3 separate regions of the Homo sapiens genome follow, and all the other regions are linked to region 2. The links are contacts of gene promoters, found by promoter capture Hi-C in blood cells and fetal thymus (Javierre and others, 2016). All regions are on one chromosome and are shown on one strand. Each heading gives the region's core, a stretch centred on a gene start or on the middle of the fragment in contact. The rest is flanking DNA. Distances are from core to core; before and after follow the strand shown.

Region 1 (3,498 bases), core at 4-2,503, 4.4 Mb after region 2:
ACAGATAAGGCATACACAGAAAAAAAAGTGATATTTTATTTAAACACCCTTCCATTTTCCTTGAATAAAATGGATGGAGTAGTACAAAAAATAATTATCAATTGGATATATTCCCCTCACCACCCACTGAGAAAGACATATTCTTACCCAGTTACAGAAAGATACATCATTTGATACACCATCAAACGACCCAAGGCTCCAACAAACAACACACACTAGGAAGCACTCAACAGAAAGGGACAAATACACAGACCTTCAGTGAGACACTAGGAAAGGAGGCTAAAGGAACAAGAGGGACAGTGAAATGTGTCTTCCTTGAAAAGGACGGGCAGATACTCAGGCAAGAACAGGGGTACTCTGCTGGAGAGTGTAACTGGGTGCATGTGTGTGTTTCTCTCTCACATACAAACCCACACACACTAATCTCTTATACAAATGCGCTCTCTCTTAAATATATGCACTGGCTCTCTCACACAAGTAATTTCTCTTTCACACTTGATCTCTCTCAGTTTCTGTTGTTCCCTCATACAATCTCTCTCTCACAGTCTCTTGCATACACATACAATCTCAATCTCTCTCTCTCTCTCTCTCTCTCTCTCTTTCCCCCCCCCCTCCTCTCTCTCTCTCTCTCTCTCTCTGAAACGGGGTCTGGTTCTGTCGCCCACGCTGGAGTGCAGTGGTGTGATCTCTGCTCACTGCAGCCTCGACTTCCCGCGCTGAGACGATCCTCCCACCTCAGCCTCCTGAGTAGCTGGGACCACACTGCCGCCACCACGCCCGCCTAATTCTATTTTTAGTAGAGATGGGGTTGCCCAGGCTGGTCTCCAACTCCTGGGCTCAAGCTATCTGCCCGCCTCGGCCTCCCAAAGTGCATACAATCTCTTATACGCAGTTTCTTTTATATAGAATCTCTCTCACACACACACACAAATCACGCTCAGCGTCTCTCTCACACTCTCTAACGGTCTCTTACGCACACACAATATCCCTCATACATACACACAGCCTCTCTCATGTACAATCTCCCTCATGCAGTGTATGTCCATAGTTTTTCACACAACACCCTTCTTCTCTCAGTCTGTCGGCCTCTCTCTCAATCTCACACACACACCCCCGCCCCCCAACACACCGTTGGCCCCGCCCCCTGTCTTGGCCCCTCCCCTGTACGGCTCCGCCCCGACGGCCGGGGGTTGGGCGAGCCAGTGACAGGAGGGGCCGGGCTGGTACTTCAGGCGCCCAGGCCGGCGGGGCGCGCTCCGGCGGCTCCTGTCAGCGGCGGGTGCGGCGGATCCCAGGGCAGCCTTCGGGCGGCGGCGCTGCCTGGTGCGTCGCGGCGTGGTCCTCCGGCGGCTGTCCGGGGCGGTAGGAGTTGGCTGCGGGATGTGCTCAGCCGGGGAGCTGCTGCGGGGCGGCGACGGCGGGGAACGCGACGAGGACGGGGACGCGCTGGCGGAGCGGGAGGCGGCAGGGACCGGGTGGGATCCCGGGGCGAGCCCGCGGCGGCGCGGACAGCGGCCGAAGGAGAGCGAGCAGGTGAGCGCGGGGAGGGGCGGCGGCGAAGCGGCCGGGTCGGGGGCCGCGAGCCCCGCCCGGCGTTGGAGGGAAGGGGCCCGGCCCGCGGGCCGCGCCGCAGCTCTGCCCCGCGTGGGCACTGGCTCCCCGGCGCTCTGGGAAGTCGTCGCCGGGAGCGGTTAGACGGCGCTCCCAGGAGGAGCGGCGGGGTCGCGCGAGTGCAGACGCCAGCGCCGGCCCCGGGGTCGCGTGTCTGGCGGGGTCAGCGTGGTTCGTCCCCTGGCGTCCGGCAGAGGATTCTCAGGCTGGCGCCCAGGGCTCGGAGGAAATGCCCTCCATAGCGGTGATTTATTTAAAAGCCTCACTTGTAAACACTTCTTTTTCAACTTCGAGTCCGTGCCCTGCGCCAGGTTTAGGAGACGCCGGCTCCCCTCCCGCCCTCCATCTTGCGTTTCCGAGCCCACACCTAGCGTGTCTGGAAGGTGTGGGTGGATTCCGTCCACGGGCAGCGCTGAAAGCATGAGTAGGAGCGGGTGTTACAATGAATGTCTTGACAGGGACTCTCCCAGAGCACGTTCTTCATAAATACAGATGAGATCAAAGCTTCAGTTAAAAAGTGGAGAGGCAAGAATATTGCTTTCGGTTATAAGAGGCCAGCCATAGTAAGGGAAAAGAGAAGTTGCGTAATTTTTTAAACTCTCTGAGTTTATCTCATTTAAATAAAGTGTGATAATGGGCATTATAACATCAAATATCTTAAAGATTAGGCAAAAGGTTTAATTTTAAAAATTGAATTGTATGTTGGATGAATTTTCTACAGCAAATACAGTATTTAGACTTTCCAAATACCTGAGGTAAGCCGCTCTTTAGACTCACATTAAGGAGCAGGAATTCAAATGATTATTGGCCTTTATTACAGCCTGTACTGTTAGGACAATTAATACCTGTCTCTCCTCATCTTTCTTCATCTGTCCTTTCTGTCACGTTTCACAAATTCCAGTATCATCACTAAATGCATTAATAGATGTATACCTTACATTGTTTCAATAGGTTACTTAGGAAACAGAGTAATACTGTGTGGCACACAAAATATGCCTTAGCGTTAGGTTTGATCACCACGTGGAGTGTAATTTTTCATCTGTGACAATATAAGAGAAAGTGACTCAAGCAAATAATTTGGTAGCTTGTTCTTCGGATTCCCTTCCTAGTGGTTTTTCCCGTTAACTATTCATTTGCTCAAGGGCTTGATTTCCTCTAACTTAAATTGCTTAACTGGAAAAGTGAAGAAGACAGCACAAGAATTCCTTTGGGGGTGGGGAGGGGTTGCATTTGAGCAGGGGTTTCCAAAGTAAATTTTCAAATAGTTGTAAGGGAGCATATAAAAATACTTCATTTAAGCTTCTGTGTACTTCATTAGTATGATTATGTAGACATCACTAATAGTTGTGGTCTTTCCAAAATTGCTTATGGTACAAAGTAAAAGGATAAAACAAAAAATGAAAAGTACATCTTAGAAAACATATCACTTTGCATACCTGCCTCCTTCATTGAATGTCATGAAAGTTCATTCTCCTGTACTCCTTTGAAGTGTTATTTTTATCATTCTGTTTTTGCCTCAAGATTTATTAATGTATTCTAAGCCCCCATACACAATAATTGAAAATCACACCGGAGATAGGCATTTCCTACTACATTAGCACCAAAGAAGAATTAGTCAAGAAGACAAAAATAAGCAAAAAATTGGTGCAACCCAACCCATTGTTGTAAAAAGCAAGCTTTTCTGATAAAACGTTTCTTGGTAATGTTATCACAAAGCCTTGTTTTCTAGTTTTTTTCAAGTTCTGTAAATGAAATTATGCATTGCCATGTAATGATGGTAGAAATAGTATTACATGTGTAAAGATATTTGAGGAAGAAATGAAATTAACAACTATGGAACATATCCCAAGGACTCATTTTATTTAGTTTTTATTTAGGGAGATGATT
Region 2 (3,558 bases), core at 4-2,503:
GTAAATGGCAAAGCTGGGATGAGAGACCAGGCCAGGAGTCCAGCGCTCTTTCCACTGTTCTAATTCATCTTTTAAATCTCCTTCCCCTCCTTACCATCTATAGAGTTAAATAAAAGGAGAGAGGAATCAGTAAACAACTCATGATAACAATAACAACAGATGTGGTAAATTAATGACTTCCAAAGAACATTTGCCTGAAATTGCTTGTTTTTTTTTTCTTTGATTCATCTAGGGCAAGTAACGTTTTGGGAGACATTGCATTTAAACCTTATTATTCCATTGGACTGTGAAATAACGTTTCCGTCTAAACTTAAACCAGTGCCTTTCCAGACTCCAAAGATGGGCCCTTCCCTGCTGCACACTTACAAAGGAAGATAAGGCTCTTTCTCATCACAGAGAAATTAAGGAAGTAAGCAACGTTATGAGGACACAGCACTTTACAAAGTCAACTGGCAGTCATTACTAAACGTTATAAAGGACTGGTCCCATACCTGACTGTCACCAGGAATGGAGTCTTCCAAACTCCTACTTGTTAAACATTCCGATTTAACACAGAGACACAAAGAACCTCAGTTCAGGGCAGTCTCAACTCATGAATGACCACATTGTTGGGTACTCTCCTTTCACACTGAAACTCAGAAATGGAAAGACACGGAGATGGACCCAAACCTGGGCCAACCGCACTGGCAGAGCCAAGAAAAACCAAGAACGCGTCGAAGGCGCCCGCCTCCGCCTTCTCTGCACATCTTCAGGCCACTCCAAGGTATGCAGGAAGCTCCTGTTTCTGCAGCCGCAGGTTTCAGCACCCGGAGGTTTCAGCAAGCGCCAGTTCACGGGTGAAGGATTTTCCTGGGGGTCTTACCTGAGCGGAGGCGCTGGGGAGGGGGGGCGTTCTTCCCACGAACGGTGGCTCGGACCGCACGCTGCGCCAAGCTAGGGCGAGATCCCCACCCTGCGCCGCGCCCCTCTGCCTCGCAACCACCCACGGCCCCAGCCGGGAGGCGCCGCAGCCCCGGAACCCACCTCCGCGCTCCTGGAAGGATGGATGCGGAGGAGGCGGGAGAGAGGCGGCGGCTCCGGAACGAGCTGCTCCCACAGCCCCTCCGCTCCTCGCCGTCTCGCCTTCGTCCCCAGCTTACCCAGTTCTGCGCGTTATTGCTCAGTTTGACTTTCTTGCACAGGCTCCCGGGGATCTCCATGACCGCGGAGCGCGCTGAGCAGCCGGGGTTCTCTGCGCCGGGAGGGTAGCAAGAGGAGGGCAGGCCAGCGAGCGGGGCGGGGCTGGAGGGCGGGGCCTCCTCGCGTCGGAGCGGGCGCGCGCTGACTTAAGCACGCGCCCGTGCTCGTGGCCTGGGTTGCGCGGCGCATGCGGCGCGCCTCGGAAATGGGTCCGGGGCAGAGGTCTGTGGGGAAGGGCGAAACGCCGGGATAGAACCGGAGGTAGAAGCTGGGGGCGGAGCTTCAGCGCTCGCGCCGGCGCGGGCGCGCACGGCGCTCCTCCTTCCAGATCCCGATGAAGGGGCGGGGCCTGGAATGCAGTCGTGGAACCTCAGGTGCCTCTGCGGCACCGAGCCTAGCTCTGAGCTAACGCAGATCTCTAAGAGCGAGTACCAGCCGCCGGGAGAAAGGCAAGGGGAGTGCGCGGCTCGCCGCGCGCGGCACTCCCTCAGCAGAGGCTGATTGGGAGGACGCTGACGCGGCCTCTTGCACCTGTGGCTACTCCTCCACAGACCTGGCTGCCGACCTCCTGTCTGCCCCTTCTGTGCCCATGTCACCCTGGCCAAATGTTTTAAATGTTTTACAGCTTTGCAAAGGGAAGAATTGATTTACCGAACAGCTCATTCTCCACATTAAAATTCTACTCAAGACACAATTTTTTTTCTTTTTTTGAGACGGAGTCTTGCTCTGTCGCCCAGGCTGGAGTGCAGTAGTAGGATCTCGGCTCACCGCAACCTCTGCCTCCCGGGTTCAAGCGATTCTCCTGCCTCAGCCTCCCGAGTAGCTGGGACTACAGGCGTGTGCCACCACGCCCGGCTAATTTTTGTATTTTTAGTAGAGACGGGGTTTCACTATGTTGGCCAGGCTGGTCTCGAATTCCTGACCTCATGATCCGCCCGCCTCAGCTTCCCAAAGTGCTGGGATTCCAGGCGTGAGCGACAGCGCCTGGCCTCAAGACACAGTTTTTAAAAAGATATAATAAAAGCCCGATTTCTTGACATCAATAATTAATATCTCAACCTGGATTAGTGATTACTTATAAGGTGCCTCCCTCTCCGCTAGGAGACCCCACTTCGCATCAGATTTCTGTGCAGTGCTTCTTACCGACCTACACCGGAAAGGGGCTTCTGTATTATTAAGAGCTACTCAGGAAATACCTAGAGGACTGAAATCCAGGACCGGGGAGGCCGCAGGTAACCCCGAATAGAACTCCCGCCTACGGAGGACATTTTCAAATTCACCTAATTATTCCAGGGCTAGTTCGTAGGAGGATGGGCTGGGGGCATGACAGAGTTTCCTCCAGGAGTTATCTTCCCCACACCCCCCATAACTCTGAGTTCTCTTTTCCGCAGCTTGCCCCTGGCACCAAAAGAGTTGCTTGCAGCTCTGCCCCCCTGTGACACAGCCGCCCTCCGCCCCTGACCCCGCCCATCACCAAGACCTGAGACTGCTGCCTGTTAGTGACTAGCAAATTAGCCCCCATCACCAAGACCTGAGGCTGCTGCTGCTGCCTGTTAGTGACTAGCAAATCAGCCCCCATCACCAAGACCTGAGGCTGCTGCCTGTTAGTGACTAGCAAATCAGCCCTCCATCTATTTGCCCCACTGCTACTGTCTTAAATTAGGCCTCCCCTATATCCAGCCTGAGTTATCATTAAGCCCGTTCACTGGACATCCTCCCAGCTGTGCAGCCGCTCTCCACATCCCCGCCACACACCCCATTCTTGCACCTGCTGTCAGAGCGGTATTTCTGAAACAGAAATCTGATCTTGTTACTTGACTACTTAAAATGTGAATGGTTCCCTTCAGCTTTTTTTCTAGGGAATTTTCAATCTGGGGTTCATACATAGAACTGAATTTCAATATAATTTCAAATTCTGCCAATAACAGGAATGAGCTTGGAAGAAGATCTCAAGCTTCATATGAGAAAATAGGGCCACATCTGAAGTTAGCCATTGCTCTGAGTTCTGGTTCTTATTAGAGGGAAATGGTATTTAGATATAACGATCTGGCTCTAGGAGTGCTCACTGCTGTGAGTTTGACCTTATTTCTAGTAAAAGACTTTTTTTAAGGTAAAATATATCATAAGTTTACATTGATACTGTCCATCCAAATTCATGATTCCAGATATGGGTCATGCAAATGAGCCAGAAACATCAAACAGGAAACATAACAAAAAACTGTCAAAAGCTACTCGGATTATGTCAAAAGGACTCAGAAACCAATTTAAAGAAATTTTTCCATGTCAAAGATGGGAGAATTAAAGCACTAAATGGACTAGAACTACAAAATATTAAAACATATCAAATATGTTTAAATCTAGGTGTTTGTAATGATGATG
Region 3 (3,516 bases), core at 940-3,439, 4.5 Mb after region 2:
CACGTGTAAGAAAGAATGTAAGAATGTATATGTTTTGTTTTAAACATCATTTGGAACATACATATAATTTTCTATCCTGATTTTTCACACATTATTCAGCAAGCATTTTTCCATATTGTTTTAAAAAATATATTTATTATGTCTATATAACAAGAATACACCAGCAAATTTAATCATCCTTCAATTTTTGAGCATTTAGTTTGTTTCTGGCTCTTGGTATTTCCAAATAATTTCTCAGAATGAGTTTCATTATCTGCAGCAGTTTAGAATAGTACCATTTCATTGTATCCTTGCAAATACTGAATATTTCTAACTGTAAAGCTTTGTTAACTTGACAAGTGAATCAATACAAATGACTAAAACATGCATTTTAATTTGCATTATTTTGCTTAGTGAAGTTTTTAAATGTCTTATTCATTTGTATTGCTTCTGAGGATCATTCATATCCTTAACTGAGAGAACAGATTTACTATAAAAAAATTATTTTTAAGTGAGATTCAGTTTTAATAACGGTTTATAGAATGTCTATAGGAAGTGCTGTCAAGTCTATAGCTGCATTTTTTTAATCAAACTTTTTATATTGAGACAATTGTGTCACATGCAGTTTTAAGAAATAATATACAGATGACCGTGTATATCTTTAATCTAGTTTCCCCCAGTGGTGACATGTTACAAAACTATTGCAATATCACAACCAGAATACTGACATTAATATAGACAAGATGCAGGATTTCCATTCCCTGACCCATGGCAATCAATTATTCTGTTGTCCACTTACATAAATTTATCAATTCTGAGATGTTACATAATGGAATTACACAGTATATAAGCATTTGAGATTGGCTTTTTCTTTAACCATAATTTCCTACAGATTCATTTCAGGGTGTGTTCATCAATACTGTGTTCCTATTTGTTACTAAATATTCCATAGGATAGATGTACCAGTTTCTGTAAACATTTATAGTTGAATTTTAATGATTATTTCATTAATACATTTGTCTAATTTCAGGGGTTGGAAGGAGAAAAGAAAATGCTTTCACTAGGAAGTCATTCGGTCATCCCAACATTCACTGAAAGCAAACCATTGGGACAAATGTTATCCTATGCTTCTGATTACAAAACAACTAAAACCCAAATAAAATAAACATTAGTAAGTAGCAGTGCTAAGATTGAAACCAGATACGTATTTAAAGAAGCAAGAAAATGAGTTCAGAGAACATTTTATCATCAATAAAAACTTTCTAAAATGTAACAATTTTTCTAGGTTTAATTAAACAGGCTAAAAACTTGATGTGTCCAGTCCATGAGAGCATCCTCCTATCCACTGGACGAGGTGTCTACTAAACCACATCTTATATCTATTGTGAGGCCAACTGTCTTGAGGCCAAACAAGACGCGAATTATATGGTAGCACTTGAGAGGGCTGCGGACACATTAGAGCAGCTTTCTCTTCCCATCTACAGCAGTTCTGGGCAGCATGCTTGGAATGGCAACGCTGACGTCCCCGAAAAACCCCAGCCCTCTTGCCAATTTCCTCTGAACCCCAACTACCCAACCCAAAATTATGTGAAGATCTGATTTTCAAACAAAACGAGGACAATAATGCACCATTATTACGTTTCCCTAAAACATTAACAGTATGGAAATTAAGACACAAACCAGAGACCGGAAAAAAATCTTGGTGCGTTCAAAGTAACCTCAATCAGTTCCCGAGTCTATTTTCCGCTTATGGTGCAGTATTAACAAAAACTAAGCACACCGTGCAGAGAAACGCCCCTTCGCACTTATGACTTCCGGCCTGGGACTCTGGCTCCTCACACGCCTTTGATACAAAGTTCGAAGGCTGAGCCTTAGCCATGCCACGCCCAGCGTGCTCCGGACGAGGATGCCCGAAACTGCAATGAGAGAGGGAAATTTCCTAGTCAGGTCAAGGTCCAACAAAACAAACGTCCGCACGCAGGAATTGAACCGTCTCGCAGGCAGAGGCGGCTGAACCAGGAGCGAGCGGAAGTGACGCACAGGCCGGTCGCCAGAGAAGGCGGGGCACCGAGGTAGCGCGCCCAATTGGGGCGCGGGAGAGGCCGGGGGTGTGGCAGCGTTGGCGGCGAGCAGGGGCCTGGGCGCGCTGGGGGCGGGGCCAGGGTGCTCGGCTCGCGGGGACTGGCCTCCTTCGGCAGCTGGAGGCGGTCACTCACGCTGGGCTAGGAGCTGAGGCGAGAAGGGCCATGCGGACGGCGAGGGAGTCCAGAGCCTTGAGCCCGGTGCTCCTCCCTCGCGCAGCGGTGGCTCTGCGGCCGCTGGAGTAAACACTGCCTTTGTTCCCTAGCGCCTCGTCTTTCGTCGCCCCGTGCCCTCACGCCGCCGGGCTCTGGCCGGCCCGCCCTCGGTCCTTGAACCCCATTTCGGCTCGTGCCGTGCGGATGCAGCTGCCGGGCCTGGGTTTGGGCATTGAGCGGGAGGAGGAGGAGGAGCGGCGGCGCCTGGGCGGCATGCGATGGGGAACTGCTGCTGGACGCAGTGCTTCGGACTGCTTCGCAAGGAAGCGGGGCGGCTGCAGCGAGTAGGCGGCGGCGGAGGGTAAGCCCGCTGGGGGAGGGGCCCGGCCCCCGTGGCTCCTCCTCTTCGGCCCCCGGCGGGGAATCCCTTTCACCGTCCCCCGGCGGCTGGAGGTGGCGGTCGAGAGCCCTGCTACACTCACTGCTTAGCAGACGTCAGACTGGTGGTCGTCTTGGAGGCCCAGTCTGGGGTCCGGTCTTGGGGCCTCCTCGGAAAGAGGTAGAAGAGGGGGCGGGGTGTCCCTCCTGCCAGGGCGCCCTGTCACGCGGGGAAGGAGTCACGGGAGACATCATCTCCAGGAAACAAGGGGTAGCTTCGCGCTAATGGGCTGTAGGACCGGCTCCACGGCAACCTGGACACACCCTGCGCTGAGCTTAGGTTTAACGCCAAAGCTAGTATCCCTGTATCTGACCCTCTCTTTAGCCCTGGCAGAGCAGGTGGGATCTGGCTCCGGAGTTAATGCCTCAGATTGATTTTAAGTAGAAGTCATTTGGATGCTGGAGTAAAATAAGGTTCCAGATACTGATGAACTCTGGTAGCTACAAAGACTTGCTGAATTGCAGAGTTCCCAATGGGCATTCAGATTCTTGGTGCTCATAACTACAGGGACAATGTGTAATTTTTTCGTATTAAGTTTTTGAAATTTCGAGAGGAATTCCTTGCCCTGATTGCTACTCAAACGTCCTGTAACATTAGGTAAATTGCAGTCCTTCTGAACTTCACTTCTCTTGAGTAAACCTGGGATATTGCTTAGGTTTTGTATATGCACCATCCACAGAATAGTAATTTCATAATTCCGTTTTTGTGTTTTTTTATTTCATATATATTGAAAAAATTAGAGCAAATTCCTTTGGGGTTGGCTTTGTTGTTATTAAATGTCCCTCCGGAATTCAAACCTAGAATTGAAAATCTGAACCAAGCCAGTTTGTGTAAGGACTAAGACTGTTTTGCACTTTCTGA

Evidence for each region. Contacts are between HindIII fragments. The CHiCAGO score rates a contact against its expected background, and 5 or more counts as called.
Region 1: a contact is called between the fragment with the promoter of FAM241A here and the fragment with the promoter of PAPSS1 in region 2, in 5 of 17 cell types (naive CD8 T cells, non-activated CD4 T cells, activated CD4 T cells and 2 more). The highest score is 6.5, in naive CD8 T cells.
Region 3: a contact is called between the fragment with the promoter of AP1AR here and the fragment with the promoter of PAPSS1 in region 2, in 2 of 17 cell types (naive CD8 T cells and total CD8 T cells). The highest score is 7.0, in naive CD8 T cells.

What each region holds. Positions count from the first base shown.
Region 1 is chr4:112,144,201-112,147,698 of GRCh38, forward strand. It overlaps FAM241A (family with sequence similarity 241 member A), which reads left to right and starts at 1,254. Exons shown (of 2, transcript NM_152400.3): 1 at 1,254-1,533. The coding sequence starts at 1,381. RefSeq lists a silencer at 1,035-1,684 and an enhancer at 2,025-2,164. The HindIII fragment of the contact is 3,530 bases long and covers 1-2,113 here.
Region 2 is chr4:107,718,981-107,722,538 of GRCh38, forward strand. PAPSS1 (3'-phosphoadenosine 5'-phosphosulfate synthase 1) reads right to left here and starts at 1,254. Exons shown (of 12, transcript NM_005443.5): 1 at 1,140-1,254. The coding sequence starts at 1,199. RefSeq lists enhancers at 507-566, 2,557-2,706 and a silencer at 1,197-1,446. The HindIII fragment of the contact is 5,198 bases long and covers 1-3,131 here.
Region 3 is chr4:112,229,598-112,233,113 of GRCh38, forward strand. AP1AR (adaptor related protein complex 1 associated regulatory protein) reads left to right here and starts at 2,190. Exons shown (of 10, transcript NM_018569.6): 1 at 2,190-2,577. The coding sequence starts at 2,495. AP1AR-DT (AP1AR divergent transcript) reads right to left here and starts at 2,553. Exons shown (of 1, transcript NR_186684.1): 1 at 1-2,553. RefSeq lists enhancers at 1,963-2,910, 2,935-2,984 and silencers at 2,015-2,294, 2,455-2,724. The HindIII fragment of the contact is 11,290 bases long and covers 320-3,516 here.